Regions from separate parts of the Homo sapiens genome. Here all the other regions are linked to region 3. The links are contacts of gene promoters, found by promoter capture Hi-C in human tissues and cell types (Jung and others, 2019). All regions are on one chromosome and are shown on one strand. Each heading gives the region's core, a stretch centred on a gene start or on the middle of the fragment in contact. The rest is flanking DNA. Distances are from core to core; before and after follow the strand shown. Region 1 holds the start of MUC17 (mucin 17, cell surface associated). Region 2 overlaps COL26A1 (collagen type XXVI alpha 1 chain). Region 3 holds the start of CLDN15 (claudin 15).

Region 1 (3,636 bases), core at 927-3,426, 220 kb after region 3:
AGGTGGAGGTTGCAGTGAGCTGAGATGGCGCCACCGCACTCCAGCCTGGGAGATAGACTGAGACTCCTCCTCAAAAAAAAAAAAAAAAAAAAATCTCTCGGGAGGAGGACAAGAGTGGGATGGTGATGGAAGTGCTAGATGGGGACAGAGCCCTAGACAGGGATGGGGGGAGGGCAAAGGGATACCTGCCATGGACAGGTGACTGAGCACCCAAGCCTTGGTGGCCCTCATGCTGGGTGTAGGGATGAGAGGGCATCTGTGATGGCAGGGCCGGGCTGGGCAAACAGACAGGACATTGTGTTTTGTTGACAAGCAATATAACCAGGTGATCTGCAGGATGAGAGGGTGTGTCTGCTGGGAAGGACCAGGCTGAGGCCACTGCAGCTCTCTCTCTAGACCCACGCCCTGCCCTGGTATCCCCAGCCCCATGACTTCAGCAGGGGTGAGGCTCTGGGTCCCTGGAGAAGGGACATGGAAAGGGTCAGAGGCTGCCCAAAGCTGGCCAGGGTCCCAAAGGACAGCCAATGCCAGGCACAGAGACGGAGGAGCCACAGAATCCTGGAGAGTAGGAACAGGGTCTGAGAAGTCACATTCTACAAAGGCAGACTGAGGCTAGGGATGAAATCAATGATAACACGCAGAAAGTGGGGAGAGGCCAGGAAGGGGCCAAGGAGAGGTGGGGAGAAGAAGAAAGAGAAGAGAGGGGGAAGGAAGGGGCTAGAAGAACCCAGGAAGAGGGAAGGGAGGAGCAGAGAGAAAGAAAGGAGGGGGCCAGGAGCGGTGGCTCACCCCTGTAATCCCAGCACTTTGGGAGCCCAAGGTGGGAGGACTACCTGAGATCAGGAGTTTGAGACCAGCCCGGTTAACATGGTGAAACCCTGTCCTTACTAAAAATATACAAAATCTAGCTGGGCATGGTGGCATGTGGCTGTAATCCCAGCTACTCAAGAGCCTGAGGCGGGAGAATCGCTTGAACCCGGGAGGCAGAGGTTGCAGTGGGCTGACATCACGCTACAGAACTCCAGCCTGGGTGACAGAGCGAGGCTCCGTCTCAAAAAAAAAAAAAAAAAAAAAAGGAGGAGACAGAGGTGAGGGTTGGGGAGGAAAACAAAAGATCATGTCTAAGATGCTGTTATTAGAGATACATCACCAAGGGTCTGGAAGGCACAGAAAGTGCAAGGAAAGGAGTGTTTTCATTACAACGAATGGGCTGGCAGATCTGGGTGAGATTGCCACAGGGTGACATCTCGAGGGGCAGGGACCCTGAGGTCTATGGGTCCAGTTTCTGTCTTGGTTCCCCTGCGCCCTTCTCTGGGGGCAGGTGAGGGGCAGAGGGAGCTCCCAGAGAGTCCAGCTGGAACCCACTGTCATCCCTCCTGCTCTGAGCCCCCCGGGGTCCCTGTGGCCATGAAGCCCAAAGCGGCTGAGCTGGAATGATCCTCAGAGGTCCTAATGCCTTGTCTTTTGGGGAGACTGAGGCAGGAGATGAACTGAGCGGCCCCAGGGTGCACAGCTGGTTCATGGCAGGATTAGAATCTGGGGCTCCTGAAACGCCATTTTGTGCCCATGTGGCTATGTCCCGGAAACATTCCTGGGGCACACAGCAGGGTGTGCTGGTGTGGGAGGTGACAGGGACTTGGCGGGAACATTCACTGGGTAAGGATAGACTCTAATATGGGTTGAACACCAGTCTTGTGCCAGGGATCATGCCTCGGGGGGGGAGCTCTTTTCAATCCTAGCAGCTGCCCTGAAAAGCAGGTGTTATTATTCTTACTTTCCGGAGGGGAGACTGAGGCTCGGAAGGGGAAACTAAGGCTCAGAGACCTCAACTGGAAGAGGCTCCAATGCCCTGGCTCTTCCCCCAAAGCTCGCTGGGGAGAGAAGAGAAGTCCAGGGGGTAGGCACAGGGCTGAGCTCCAGGCAGAGGGCACACCCCTATTGGTGTCCTGGAGGCAGCTCTCCCTCGGGGATGGGCAGACAGAGCAGGCTGGCCCCTGGGATGGGGGCCTCTTGGGCAGCGGGGCGTGGGGGTCACTCACCCTGTTCTGCAGCAGCTTGTGGGGGCAAGAGCGAGAGGACCAAGGTCAGCAGACACAGCGCCATGGTCCCTGGCCTTGGCATCGGAGCTCTGAGCACGTCTCACTTGCCTGTCACCCCCAGAGGAGCTGGCGAAATGAGCCTCAGAGAAGGAAACTGATAAATAAATGGGTGCCAGAGACCTTTGGTCCCTGAGACACTGGGGATCAGGGGCCAGCCTGAGCCTGAGTCAGTCTGGAAGCTTCCCTCATGACTTGGGGCGCAGGGCCTGTTTCAGGCCAAAGGGCAGAGGGAGGGGGTGCCTCTCCCTGGCCCGGCAGCCCATAGGCATGAGGGTTATCAGCTTTATCACCCCAACAGAGGGGCAGCCCAGAGGGCCTGTAGGAGCCAGGGGGGAACTGATGAGATCCCCCGACCGAGGGTGGTGGGAGATGGGCAAGAGGGACTGGGCCTGAGCTGGGAAAGGAGGAGGGTACCACCTGCATTTGACCCTAACCCCTAGCAGGGACACCCCCTTTGTCTCTTTTCTAACCCTTCTTATTGGCCGGGTATGGTGGCTCACACCTGTAATCCCAGCACTTTGGGAGGCTGACGCGGGAAGATCACTTGAGATGAGGAGTTTGAGACCAACCTGGCCAACATGATGAAACACCATCTCTACTAAAAATACAAAAATCAGCCAGACTTGGTGGCGGGCGCCTGTAATCCCAGCTACTCAGGAGGCTGAGGCAGGAGAATCGCTTGAACCTGGGAGGCGGAGGTTGCAGAGAGCCAAGATCGTGCCTCCGTACTCCAGCCTGGGCAACAGAGCAAGACTCTGTCTCGGCAAAAATAAATAAATAAAATAACCCTTCTTATTGTCCTATGAGTATGCCCTGAAGACATGGCCATGCCTGGGCAGGGAGTTCTTGGGTTTGGTCTGTGGGTTCCGAGGTAAGCACAGCTCCCATGGCCATCTGGAGTGACCCTGCCTTGTGCAAGCTCAGCAGAGCCAAGTGCTCACTCCCTGGCCAACTGGGGTTGAATCTGAGGTCCTCTCCTGTCCCCAGAACCTGACATTAGGCTTTTCTGCCACAGGGACCTCAGCAGAGGCAGGCCTAGACCTGTCCTGACTGGAGCCGGGGAGGGGGCTCCCTGCAAAGACACAGGAAGGGGCCCAGAGCATTCGTTCCATGCCCCATTCAGCAGCCAGTCCTGGGAGAAATCCCATCCCAGGAGGGCTCTGACCCCTAACCTGACCCCAACTGCAGAAGGAGGAGAAGGAAACCTCTCACTTCTCATTCTGAGCTTTCAGATTTGCTTTTATTGGTAGGGAAATTCCAGAGTGGGGAGCCACCCAGGAGGAGACAGGGGTGCCGAGGCTTCTGGGAGTCTGGAAGCTCCCGGATGGAGAGGCTTACAGCCCCCAGCCTTCCCCAGCAGGAGCACAGGCAGGGGACTGGCCAAGTCTGTCAGCTCAGAGCAGGACCGGCTTCAGGGCCTGACTTCGGTCTCCTCTTGACCCGCCCCGGAGGCTTGTGGTGGGCTCTGTGTTTGCAGCTCTCCTGAACAGAGCTAGATGAGGGTGGGAGGCCCCCGTTGGCTCACACAGTGGATGCT
Region 2 (3,450 bases), core at 175-2,674, 130 kb before region 3:
GCTTGAGGACAAGGTCTCACTGATATTAACATCAAAGCCATTCTGTGTGATTCTCAGGAAAAGTCTCCCTCCTCTATGTGCTCACACTTCAAAGGGAGAAGCGGGACCTCTAAAGCTGGAGTCTCCATGGTTCCCCTAAAAGCAGCTTCAGGAGCTGGCCTGTGCAGAGAAAGGGACCTCGCTCCAGGATCCCTCAGAACTGCAAACGTGCACTGAGGCAGAGGCACTGCCTCGGTGTCCCAAAGGAGAAAGGTCAAGGTATTTGTTCATTCATTCATGTGTTCATTCATTCACTCAACAAACTTTCCTTGAGCACCTGATCCGTGCAAGTCCAGGAGATGCTGAAATTTGGGGTTGAAAACTCCATGCAGGAAAAATAAAAGTATTTCACAAAAATGCAAGATGTTTGAACTCTGCTTTGCTGCCATTGCAAACCAAGAAAGTGCTGCAAAAAATTTGCAATGTTCTGAGAAGCAAAGCAGCAGGCTCCTTGGTGTCCCCCAGGCACTGGAGACAGCCAGGAGCTCAGGCCTGTAGCCTGTCTCTGCCTATCCGTGATCCACCAAGGGGCCAGGTCCTGCTAGCTCTGAGCACTCCCTTCTCCCCTGCTCCATCCATCAACTACCTCCTAACTGGCCTCCCTCCTTCCACTATCCTTCCTCTGCCAGCCTCTCCCCGACCAGCAAAGTTGGCACAAGCCTGACTGTGACAAAGCCCAGACTATGAAGGCAAGCTCCTCAAGGTGGCAGGAAGGAGACTTCACATCCAGACTCCAAAAGCTCAGTGCCTGTCCTCTGCCTGCCCAAGCCCATGGTCTGCTCTTGCTCTGTCACCCTGATTGGAGTGCAGTGGCACGATCATAGTTCACTGCGGCCTCAAACTCCTGGGCTCAAGCAATCCTCCCACCTCAGTCTCCTGAGTAGCTGAGACTACAGGTGTGTTCCACCACACCTGGCTAATTTTTTATTTTTGGTAGAGACGGGGTCTTGCTGTGTTGCCCAGGCTGGTCTTGAACTCCTGAGCTCAAGCAATCCTCCCACCTTGGCCTCCCAAAGTGCTGGGATTACAGGCATGAGCCACCACATCCCATTAGTCCAGCCACTCTGAACTCAGTCCCACTAACTATATGTCAGGCAATAGCTAATGACACTTCCAAGCCTTTACACAGTTGTCTGTCTGCCCAGAATGCCCCAGTCACTGCCTCAAGCTCTCCTGTTCATCCTACAAAACCCACCTCCTATGTTGACTCCTCTGAGAAGTCCTCAACATTTAGTCTCTATCCACTAGAACATTTCCCTAAGTATGTGGTCAGGAACACAATCCTAACAAAATGCTCCCCAGAAGGCCAGGTGCGGTGGCTCACACCTATAATCCCAGCACTTTGGGAGGCCAAGGCAGATGGATCACTTGACGTCAGGAGTTCAAGACCTGGCCAACGTGGAGAAACCCCAGCTCTACTAAAAATACAAAACTTAGCCTGGCATGTTGGTGGGCGCCTGTAATCCCAGCTACTTGGGAGGCTGGGGCAGGACAATCGCTTGAACCCTGGAGGCGGAGGTTGCAGTGAGCCAAGATCGCACCACTGCACTCCAGCCTGGGCAACACAGCCAGACTCCGTCTCAAAAAACAAAATGCTCCCCAGAAAAAGATTCCAAGGCTTCATATATTTGTGGAACTCCCCCGTCCTTGCAACCTTTGCAAGGCATATGAATGCAGTCCACGGTCACATTCATGAACAGAGGGTTTACTATCCTTTTTCCTAAGAACATTATTAATATTAACCCATGTAAGCCCCAGAACAACTTAATGAAGTACTGAAGTCATTCCCATTTTACAGATGAGAAAACTGAGGCACAAAGACTCCCAGGCTCCCACAAACCCTAACTCCCCTAGCTCACTTTGCACACATTTGTATCACACCAAATTCCACTCTTGCTCATGGATCTGTTTTCCCCAACCAGTCTCTGAGCTCATCAAGGACGGAGGCTGGGTCTGAAACATCTCACTGCCCCAGAGACAGGGTCTCACTCTGTCACCCAGGCTGGAGCGCAGTGGTGTAATCATAGCTCACTGCAGCTTCAACTTCCTGGGTTCAAGCGTTCTTCCCACCTTAGCCTCCCAAATACCTGGGACTACAAGTGTGCACCACCATGCCCAACTAATTTTTTAAAGTTTTTTTTTTGCAAAGACAGGGTCTGACTATATTTCCCGGGCTGGTCTCAAACTCCTGGGCTCAAGTGATCCTCCTACCTCAGCTTCCACCAGGACTACAAGTGTGCACCACCACACCCAGCTAATTTTTTAATTTTTTTTTTTTTTACAGAGACAGGGTCTGGCTATGTTGTCCCAGCTGGTCTCAAACTCCTGGGCTCAAGTGATCCTCCCACCTCGGTCTCCCAAAGTGCTGGGATTAAAGGCATGAGGCACCATAGCTAATCACAGTTGCCAATTCTTGAATGTAGGGAACCAGAGAGCAAAGGCAGGGGTCCAACACTGCAGAGGCATGCAATCCAGTCGGAGGGACAAGTCCCCATGGATGTGATCATCCACTTCCCCAGAGTCTGCTGAGCTCTTCCTCCATGCAGGCCACCAGGCACAGCCCCCTGCCTTCACGTTTGAGTCCCCAGCCTCTACCCTACCTACACGTGGGCTCAGTGAATGCAAGGTGATTAAATGCCTGACCTGGAGCGGCTCACATTTCCAAGAGGCAGTGGTGGGTGGTGGGCAGGGCTAAGCTCCAGCTCATGCACGCTTGCCCAAGGACGGCTGCTCAGAGCCACTCCTGTAGGGAGTAAATGAGGAAGGAGAAATGACTCCATCTGCAAGGAGGGAAACTGGGGAAGTGAGTTCTAGAACCAAAACCACAATCACAGATGCAGGGGCTACCCACAAATCACAGGTGCAGGGGCTACCCACAAATGAGATGAACAGAAAGCTGGGAGGTAAATCCAGAGAGACTTCCTGGAGGAAGGGTGCTTGTGGTTCTACCAAAAGAGGGGGGAGTCAAGGTAAGAGGGAGGCATTTTGAGTGAGGAGGGGACACACCAAGCACTTTGGCTTAGACGAAACCACAAGAAAGTGAATTCAGAGACAGAGAGAGTTTGAAGCAGCAGGTATAGATGAAGGAAAGGTGGGCAGGGTGCAGTGGCTCATGCCTGTAATCCCAGCACTTTGGGAGGATGAGGTGGGCAGATAACCTGAGGTCAGGAGTTCGAGACCAGCCTGGCCAACATGACAAAACCCCATCTCTTCTAAAAATACAAAAAATTAGCCAGGCATGGTGGTGCATGCCTGTAATACCAGCTAGTCGGAAGGCTGAGGCAGGAGAATCGCTTCAACCTGGGAAGCGGAGGTTGCAGTGAGCTAAGATCGTGCCACTGCACTCCAGCCTGGGCAACAGAGCCAGACTCCGTCTCAAAAAACAAAAACAAAACAAACAACAACAACAAA
Region 3 (3,465 bases), core at 678-3,177:
CCCCCCGTCTCTATCCTCTGTGGCCTTCAGCTAATTTCTGCTCCCCTGAGATTCGTCCTTCAGCCCCATCATGTGCTTTGGGATGAGTGTAAATAAAACGGGGCTGTGGCTTGGGAACCCCCGTGTCTGCGTTGAGGGGAGGGGTGGGTTCTGAACGCTGGGCACAGGGGGCGGAGACGTCACTCCTGGTCCTCTCCTGCCCCTGCCCTCCAGGTTGGCACGGGGTTCTTTGTCCACCCCGCAGCCCAGAGCCCACACCCTTCCTTCCTCCCTTTCCTGAAGCCATGTCCTTGAGAGTGCCGGGCAGCTCGGAGACATGGGGCTTTTCCATGGTCCCAGAGTCCTGGGAGAAGGCAGTGACCTGAGCATGGGCGGGCAGAACTTCGGGGCCAGGCCGGGCTTCAGGCCTGCATTCTCCTCTGACCCACTCAGCTACTTCTGTGGAGTTTTCCACAGCAGGCCCCCTTGGCTTCCTCCTCCCCACCCTCCCCTCCCTTTGTCTTCCTGTGGCCTCCCCTTCCTCCTACCTCCTCCTCTGGGGGAGGGGGAGCCCAGTAGGGGAAGGAATCCTGCATCTGGCATGGAGTAGGCGGGGGTCCCGGGAGAGGTCAGAGCCCAGGGAGCCCCAGCTCTCGCCTGTGGGCTGGAAGGTCAGGACTCAGCCCCACCTAGCCAGCTTCGCCCCCTCGTGCCAGGCTCGGCATGGGCCTGTTTTGCTTCACCGCATACCTCTCGTTCCACAGCCCAGGCCAGCACAGGAGTAGGGAGGAGACACCTGAGGGGAGGCCGGAGAAGCCCAGCAGGGCCGTGGGGCCAGGGAGGTGCGCAGCCAGCGCTGATGGCCCCCAGGGACAGAGCCCTAGGGAACCGGAGCAGGAGATGAGAGTGTCTGCTCTGGGACAGGTGCTCTGCACTGGCTCGGGATGGGGACCAGAGGCTGCTAATCCATCATCATTAACGAATAGAGTGGGTGACAGTCCCTGATAACTGGGAACAGGTTGCAGAGCTTAGCCACAGGATCACGCTCCAGGCTGTTGGCCAGCAGGACCAGGCTCGATGCTGAGTCAAAGATCAACTTAGGAGGAAATTTGAGTTTTGGGTGAGAGCGACTCCCTGGTGGCCTCAGCCCTGTGACACTCACATCCAGGACAGTTCCCGGTGCCAAGCGCTGGTTATGTGTGGGGGGCTTGACTCCCTGGTCCCAACGAGGTCTCAGTGTGTTGCCCAGGCTGGTCTTGAACTCCTGAGTTCAAGCAATCGTCTCAGCCCAGCCTCCCAAAGTGGTAGGATTACAGGCGAGAGCCACTGCGCCCGGCCCCTGGTCCCAGTTCTCACCACAGCCCCTGCAGTAAGCAGTCGGGTATGTCACTGACAGAGCAGAAGCTCAGGGGACTAAAACTCCCCGCCTGAGTTCCCTGGTGAATGGATGGTGGGGCCGAGTTCCATTCCAGGCTGGATGGAGCCCAGAGCTGTGGGTCTCCTACCCTCCCATCCCCTCATTCCAGCTTGATCTTCCTTAAGAGACTCATACGCCCCAACCCCTTGGTCTGAGTATCTTAGATTGTTCTCGTGGTTCCTCCGTCCTTCACCACTGAAGGCTGCTGTTCATTCTCTCTCCGTCTCTGTCCCTTATTGCTCTCACGTCTGTCTCTGTCATCTTTTCACTCCTTGTCCCTCTTACTCCGTTCTTTGGCCCCCAATGAAAGCTGAGTCAGAGACAGACGCTTCCCCTCAGTTCCCAGTGCCTCCCTTGGGGGCCCCTCCTTGGCTGTATCCGTCAGTGGCTCCAGGGTAAGTCTGCCCCCCCCACCCTCGTGGGGCGGGGAGCCCGGGGCAGCCCAGAGGCTGGGGGGAGGGGGTGGACTTTTGGCCCGTTTCGGTTATTCCCTCCATCTCGTCAACAGCTGCCGCGCGCAGGCTTAGCTCATTCCTCTGACCTGCCAGGAAGCAGAGAGACCCACAGAGCAGGAGGGAGGCAGAAAGTGGAGACGGACCTGAGCCCGAGGAAGAGGCAGGCAGAGGCTGAGGCTGATTCCACCCCAGCCTGCCTGGACAACCCTCCTTAGCCGCAGCCCCTTCCAGTTCCCTAGGGGTTCTGCCCCTCCCCCTCTCTGGGGCACCAGCCCCCCAGGGTCCTGCATCCCACCATGTCGATGGCTGTGGAAACCTTTGGCTTCTTCATGGCAACTGTGGGGCTGCTGATGCTGGGGGTGACTCTGCCAAACAGCTACTGGCGAGTGTCCACTGTGCACGGGAACGTCATCACCACCAACACCATCTTCGAGAACCTCTGGTTTAGCTGTGCCACCGACTCCCTGGGCGTCTACAACTGCTGGGAGTTCCCGTCCATGCTGGCCCTCTCTGGTATGGGGTGGGGAGCGCTCCAGGGAGAGAGGGCGGCGGGGAAGCTGCAGAGACCCCAGGGGAGGGCGGGTACTTCCGTGAGGATGCAGGGAGCCCTGAATTAAGCTCTGCGGGTCTGAGTTCCCGCAGCCAGGAGTGCTGGGGGCGGCCCATGCCTAGAACTGGAGTGAAGACCTTGCCACACGTGGCCCCCTGCGCTAGTGTGGCGCTTTTAGCTGTTACAGGTGCAGGCACCAGAATCAGACCCCCTTTCCCAGCCCTGTGCTGTGGGCAAATGATGAAACCAGCTTCATCTCCCACCTGTAGGGTTAGGGTGAGAGTCCCAGTTCACAGGTGACTGAGAAAGTGCAGAATGTTAGCGTGATGTTAACACACATAGGCACTCAGTACGGTTGAGCATGTTTTGGGGGTGGGATTGCTGGGGTGGGCAGGGGGAGGAGGCCCCATCTTGGATTCTTAGAGGTTGATCAACTTCCAGGCTCCACAGACTCCCCAGCCTCACTGTCGGGGGGCACTGGTCTCCTTGTCCGGCTGATGTCTATAAAGGGCCCCTGTGAAGGGAGGCGTCTTGCAAGTTGCAGGTTGAGCGTCCGCTGTAAGGAGGCGGTGTGTGTGCAGGTGTGTGGGGCTTCCAGGACAGTGTCTTTCTGGGGTCTTAGAGGGCTGGAGCCAACAGCTCTTTGGGCCCAGGGCAGTTCTTTCTGTGGCTGCGGCACCTTCCCGCTCCCTGCTCCCCGCTAAGATGAGGCCGCCCCATTGTTTCTCCGGGGCAGTCTCCCTTCCGTCTGCCCTATGCCAGAGACTGAGCGCTGGCGACCGTGAACTGTGTGTGGTGCCGCTGCACGCCCTCCTGGGTCCTTCAGGGCCAGTCCACTCACCAGGCACCGTGTGGCAGGGAAGGAGCCGAGGGCGACACTGGCTGTGAAGCGGGGCTTGAGAGCTCACCCCCGGGGATGTTGGAGCTGCTCTGAGCAGTTAGGGGGCCTGGGTGGGTCTCCTGTGCCCCCACTACTCCCAGCCCCTCCTGAGGCAGCGGCAGAGGCTTCCTGTTTTCATCCATCTCTCTAGGACTGACTGTATGCAGGGCCGGCGGGCCCCCCC

The links. The method cuts DNA at HindIII sites, captures the fragments that hold promoters and counts their contacts. A contact is called where the count stands out against the background at its distance.
Region 1: the fragment with the promoter of MUC17 here is called in contact with the fragment with the promoter of CLDN15 in region 3 in 2 of the 25 tissues and cell types used here (adrenal gland and aorta).
Region 2: a contact is called between a fragment that was not itself captured here and the fragment with the promoter of CLDN15 in region 3, in 1 of the 25 tissues and cell types used here (H1 embryonic stem cells).

The regions. Positions count from the first base shown.
Region 1 is chr7:101,018,621-101,022,256 of GRCh38, reverse strand. It overlaps MUC17 (mucin 17, cell surface associated), which reads right to left and starts at 2,176. Exons shown (of 13, transcript NM_001040105.2): 1 at 2,040-2,176. The coding sequence starts at 2,121. MUC12 (mucin 12, cell surface associated) reads right to left here. Exons shown (of 12, transcript NM_001164462.2): 12 at 3,321-3,636. The coding sequence ends at 3,621. RefSeq lists an enhancer at 3,276-3,425 and a silencer at 3,475-3,636. The HindIII fragment of the contact is 20,706 bases long and covers 1-3,636 here.
Region 2 is chr7:101,370,355-101,373,804 of GRCh38, reverse strand. The region is part of intron 1 of COL26A1 (collagen type XXVI alpha 1 chain); the gene reads right to left. Among named protein-coding and RNA genes, the nearest start is that of COL26A1, 9.2 kb to the right of the region's middle. RefSeq lists an enhancer at 648-1,186. The HindIII fragment of the contact is 5,075 bases long and covers 1-3,450 here.
Region 3 is chr7:101,236,264-101,239,728 of GRCh38, reverse strand. It overlaps CLDN15 (claudin 15), which reads left to right and starts at 1,927. Exons shown (of 5, transcript NM_014343.3): 1 at 1,927-2,364. The coding sequence starts at 2,148. It overlaps FIS1 (fission, mitochondrial 1), which reads left to right. Exons shown (of 5, transcript NM_016068.3): 5 at 1-257. The HindIII fragment of the contact is 32,734 bases long and covers 1-3,465 here.